2 separate regions of the Homo sapiens genome follow, and region 2 is linked to region 1. Evidence: promoter capture Hi-C in 16 types of primary human blood cells and fetal thymus (Javierre and others, 2016). All regions are on one chromosome and are shown on one strand. The core of a region is centred on a gene start or on the middle of the fragment in contact, and the rest is flanking DNA. Distances in the headings are between cores, read along the strand shown.

Region 1 (2,700 bases), core at 101-2,600:
TACAGCAACCATAGCCGGTTCTTACTATTGGTTGCTCTAGGTGACTTACTTTGTCCAAGGCCACACAGGCACTAAAAGGCAGAGTCAGGATTTGAACCTAGGTGATCTGGTTCCAGAGCCTGCTCTATTAACCGTTAAGGAACTGGTGCAGACAGAACCGAGACCTGGAGTCAGAATGCCCACCTAGCTAGATGCCTGAGGCAGCCACTCACCTCTTTCTGTCTTATTTACTTGTGAAATGGAGCATGTCATCAGCCTTGCCTTCCTTTTCCCGCAGCCCCCCACCCCGGTTCCTGGCCCACTGTGACCATCAGATCAGATGAAAGAGATCCAGGCATTTCTCTAAGGAGAGCACAGGGTGGTGGGGGTTGGGGTGGGAGAGAGCACATTATTTTCCCACCATAAGGGGTTGAAGGAGCCCAGAATTTGGGGGTGGGGCCTTGTCTGTAGGAGCCTGGTTCTCTCAGGTTGACACGCCACCAGAGAGCCTCCATGACCCCCAACCCTCATCCTCACCCCAGCCCCCCATAGGATGTGTAGAGACAAAAGGTTTGACAACTGTAGCGCCAACAAGCGTCCTAGAGCCCCAGATAAGATCCTAGCCTCCTGACAGCGCAACTGACAGCAGCATCTCTGAGGCTGGATTTTAGGGTGGAGTATGAAGAAGGTGGCCGTAGTGACAGTGGGGTCATGTTATTTGGCCAAGTCACACCAAGCAGGGAGAGAGAAGGGTGGGCCTAGGCTGGAAGCCTGAAGGCTGAGTGAACTCAAACTTTAACGACCATGGCCTGTAAAATGGGACTAAGCACAGCGCCCTTATGGGTTGCTGTGAAAATCAAATGAGTTAATACTTGTAACTCCTTTAGCATATGGTGTCTGGCATCAGAGAGTGCGCAGCAAACGGTGACTATTGTCGTGACTGTGTTATTACACACTTGGGTATCACCGCCAGCCAAAGCAGTCCCTTCCATTTCAGGCACCGGCCTGGGCCCGGGAGACACCGCAAGGCTATTTAAGATGGTGTGGTTTGCCCATCTACGTTGATCGTCCCAAGAAAGGGGCACCGTCTGCAGAACTTGCCAGGAAAGTCATCCTGGGCGGCGCGGGCCACGCCAGGGTCTCCCCGCGCGGCTTCCTCCCCCGGCGCCTTCTCTCGGGCGCGCGTGCGCCCCCTGCAGGCGGCCCCCGGGAGAGCCTCGCGGGGGAGCCGGGAGCCTGGTTTCCCCGCCAACCCCCATCCCGCCCGCCCCGGCGGCCACCCTGGGGGCGAGGCAGCCCGGCGCGTGGGAGGGGACGGCGCGCCATTGGCTTGTGCGCGGAACCGAGAGGAGGGACCAGCGCGGGCCGCCAGACTCGGTAAGCCCCGGCCGCGCAGGGCGCCGCGCGCAGTCCAGCCGGCCCGGCCCTGCCCTGCCCTGCCCTGTCCTGCCCTGCCCTGCCCTGCCCTGCCCTGCACTGCCCGGCCCGGCACGGGCGGCGCGATGTGAGGCGTCCGAGCCCGGAGCCTCCGCCTGGCATCAGCTCCACGTAGCCCAGCGCCGGCACGCGCGAGGCCCGTAAGTTCTGCTCCCCGCCGCCGCTTCCGAGCCGCGGACTTTCCCCTCCCGCCGCCCGCCGCCTGCGCAGCGCAACCCAGCGGGGCTCCTGCGGCCGACGGGACCGCAGAGGGGCGGCCGGGACCCCGCGCGCGCTAACCGGGCGCCCCGGGACATCTCGGCACCCGCTGAGCCCGCTGGGACCCCAGGGGGTCGCCTCCCCAGCTCCCCAAGGCGCCGTCCCGCAGCCCCTTCCGTCTCCCCTGCGCGCTCTCCCCTCGCCGCCCCTCCCTCTGACTCGGTTTCCCCTCTCCCCCGGCTCCGCGGTCGCCCTCCTCCTGGACTGCTTATTTCGTCCTCGGCCACTGCCTCTCGGGCTCGAGCTTTCTGCTTCAGAGCAGGAGAGAAACGGAGCGAAAGCAGTTTCTGTCTCCCCGGGGTCTGACTCGGTCCCCCGCGCTCGGTTCTCTGTCCCCTCCCCCTCCCGCCATTGTTCCCGGCAGGAGGAGTGCGCGGCGCAAACTTGCGAGTTCCCCCAGTCTTTGCCCCCGCAGGGCCGCGGACGGAGGTGGTGGCGGAGTTCCCGCTGCCCACAAGTCTGGCCCGACCTTCTGGGGTGGGGGCCTGGGGGCAGGGGCCCTGGGCCGGAGAACCCGGGGCCGCCTAACGGCTCGGAGCTCACCGCCGGGGGACACCGGCGCTGAGGCCTGGGTCTCAGAAAGTGGGTGAGTGTCTGGAGCGGGGACATCAGGGACAGATTGCAGGGGGAGGGGCGAGGCTGAGAGAGTCCCCCGTCCCCAGGCTGGAAAGGGGCGGGCAGAAACCCAGGCCGCGCCTTAGCCCAGTTAGGGGGTGGGTAGGGGACGCACAGGTGGAGACGCCCCCCACTCTCCCCAAAGTCGCGCGATCTGCAGGAAGGGTACAGTGTGGGGCCACTGGCCGGGCGCTGGGTGGGTTAGGGCCCCTGCCGTGGGCAGAACACTCGCACCTACCCGGGGGAGGCTGTGTGGAGGAAGGGCCAGAACGCCGCGCCCACCCCGGCGCGCCCCGCTGGGCGGGGCGGGGCGGGGCGCTCGCCTTGGGTCCCCTCGCTCTACCTTCCTTCGCCCTGACCCAGTCTCGGGCTTCCGCCTCTTCCTGGAGCCCGGGGGGAGTGGGTTTCTCC
Region 2 (2,789 bases), core at 176-2,675, 170 kb before region 1:
GTATGCAGCCAAAAAACACATGAAAAAATGCTCATCATCACTGGCCATCAGAGAAATGCAAATCAAAACCACAATGAGATACCATCTCACACCAGTTAGAATGGCGATCATTAAAAAGTCAGGAAACAACAGGTGCTGGAGAGGAAGTGGAGAAATAGGAACACTTTTACACTGTTGGTGGGACTAGTAAACTAGTTCAACCATTGTGAAAGTCAGTGTGGCGATTCCTCAGGGATCTAGAACTAGAAATACCATTTGACCCAGCCATCCCATTACTGGGTATGTACCCAAAGGACTATAAATCATGCTGCTATAAAGACACATGCACATGTATGTTTACTGTGGCACTATTCACAATAGCAAAGACTTGGAACCAACCCAAATGTCCAACAACGATAGACTGGATTAAGAAAATGTGGCACATATACACCATGGAATACTATGCAGCCATAAAAAATGAGGAGTTCATGTCCTTTGTAGGGACATGGATGAAACTGGAAGTCATCATTCTCAGCAAACTATCACAAGGACAAAAAAACCAAACACTGCATGTTCTCACTCATAGGTGGGAATTGAACAATGAGAACACATGGACACAGGAAGGGGAACATCACACTCCAGGGACTGTTGTGGGGTGGAGGGAGGGGGGAGGGATAGCATTAGGAGATATACCTAATGCTAAATGACGAGTTAATGGGTGCAGTACACCAACATGGCATATGTATACCATGTATACATGTATACATGGTATACATGTGTAACAAACCTTCACATTGTGCACATGTACCCTAAGACTTAAAGTATAATAATAATAAAAAAAATACCATGATATCTTTTAAATGTCTCTAGAACCTGTACTGATAACCCACTTTCTTAGCTGATATTCTGTTTCTCTCTGTGTGTGTGTGTGTGTGTGTGTGTGTGTGTGTGTCTGTGTGTGTGTCTGTCTGTGTCTCTCTTCTTAGTAGGGGTTTATACATTTTATTTACTTATTTAAAGGCCTAACTTTTATCTTTGCTCATTTTCTCCACTGTGTATTTTTTTTCCTATTTGATTTCTGCTTTCATCTTTACTATTTCTTTCCTTCCACTTTCTTGAGGTTTAATTTGCTGTTGTTTATCTATCTTCCTGAGAGGGAAGCTTAGATTCATTAATTTTCCGTATATCTTTTTCTCTAAGAATTGCATTTAAGGCTATAAATGTTTCTGTAACCACAGCCTTTAGATGCAGCTCACAATTTTCATTATCCCACTCTAAATATTTGCTGTTGTAATGTTTCCTTTGGCCCATGGACTATTTAGCAGTGTGTTGCTTAATTTTCAAGCATTTAGAGATTTTCTAGTTGCCTTTTTATATAGATTTCTAATTAACTCCACTCCAGTTAGAGAGCATATTCTGTATAATTTCAGTTCTTTGAAATTTGTGTTAATTGCTTTATGACCCATTGTGTAGTCTATTGTGGTAAATGTTCCACAAGCACTTCAAAATAATATTCATTCTGCAGTTATTCAATATAATGTTGTATATACATTAACCAGATAAAATTGCTTAATTGTGTTGTTTAAATATTCAGTATTTCACTGTTTTTTGTTTGCTTGCTTGTTTTAGCATTTTCTGAGAGAAGTGTGTTAAATCTGTAACTCTGATTTTGAATTTGCCCATTTCTTTTTTAAAAATTCTGTTACTTTTGCTTTGCATATTTGAAGCTTTGAAATGAGGAGCATACTAATATGGGGAAGTTACTTCTTTAAGTCTACTTTATCAGATAGTAATATAACCACACCAGCTTTTTGTTAATGGTTTCCAGCAATATCTTTTCATTCTTTTCCTTTCAACTTGTGTCCTCCTATATTGTGTGTATCTCTTATAAACAACTAATATTTGCATCTTGTTTTTTTAGTTCAATCTGACAATTATTTCATATTATACTATTTATCCATTTATAATTAATGTAATTGCTGATATAGTTGGTAGTATCAAACTACCATCGTGTGATTTGATTTTTATTTGAACCATCTATTCTTCGTTTTTTAATTCCTCCTTTCCTGCCTTTCTTGACTTATCGACTATTTTTGTCACTTCTGTTAGCTTCGTGGTTATATGTTCTTTTTTTCTTTCAGTGGATCTAAACTGCATCCCTGAATTATTACAGTCTACCTTAAGGTTGCACTGTTACTTCTTCTTGAACAATGCAAGAACCTTCAATGCAAGAACCTTACAACAGTTTAACTCAACTTTATCTGCTCTTGCCCTTTGTGCTATTATTGTCATATATTGGTACTCATACATATATTATGAGCTGAAGATACATTGTCATTATTGCTGGTTTAAGTAATCAATATTGTTTTATGTTTACCTACATACTTATTGTCTTGGGTACTATTCACTCCTTCCTGTGGTCTGTTCTCTCTGGGCTCATTTTCCTTCACCATGAAGGACAGACTCTCTTTTGATTTATTGTGATACTGGTCTGCTGGTGATGATTCTGTATGTGGTTTTTTTTTTAATGAAAATATATTTCACCTTTAATTTTAAAGGACATTTTAGTGGATATAGAATTCTAAGTTGGCAATATTCTTTTTCTAGCTTCCATAGATTCTAGTGAAGACCAGTGGTCAGTTTTACTGTTACTTCTTTTAAGGTAATGGTTCCTTTTTTCCTCTAGCAGCTTTTTACTGTTTGTCTTTGTCTTTGTCTTTCAGCAGTTTATTATGAGCCTGCATGTGGTTTTACATTGTATCTATCCTGCTTGGGTTTTGCCTTGCTTTATAAAACTAAATCTGTGGTAT

Evidence for each region. Contacts are between HindIII fragments. The CHiCAGO score rates a contact against its expected background, and 5 or more counts as called.
Region 2: a fragment that was not itself captured here is called in contact with the fragment with the promoter of TP53I11 in region 1 in 11 of 17 cell types (monocytes, total CD4 T cells, non-activated CD4 T cells and 8 more); the score reaches 8.4 in monocytes.

The regions. Positions count from the first base shown.
Region 1 is chr11:44,949,533-44,952,232 of GRCh38, reverse strand. It overlaps TP53I11 (tumor protein p53 inducible protein 11), which reads left to right and starts at 1,350. Exons shown (of 7, transcript NM_006034.5): 1 at 1,350-1,556. RefSeq lists silencers at 1,161-1,420, 1,451-1,580. The HindIII fragment of the contact is 12,322 bases long and covers 1-2,700 here.
Region 2 is chr11:45,120,345-45,123,133 of GRCh38, reverse strand. All of the region lies in intron 3 of LOC105376652 (a long non-coding RNA gene), which reads left to right. It also overlaps a transcript of PRDM11 not described here. Among named protein-coding and RNA genes, the nearest start is that of PRDM11, 25 kb to the left of the region's middle. The HindIII fragment of the contact is 566 bases long and covers 1,143-1,708 here.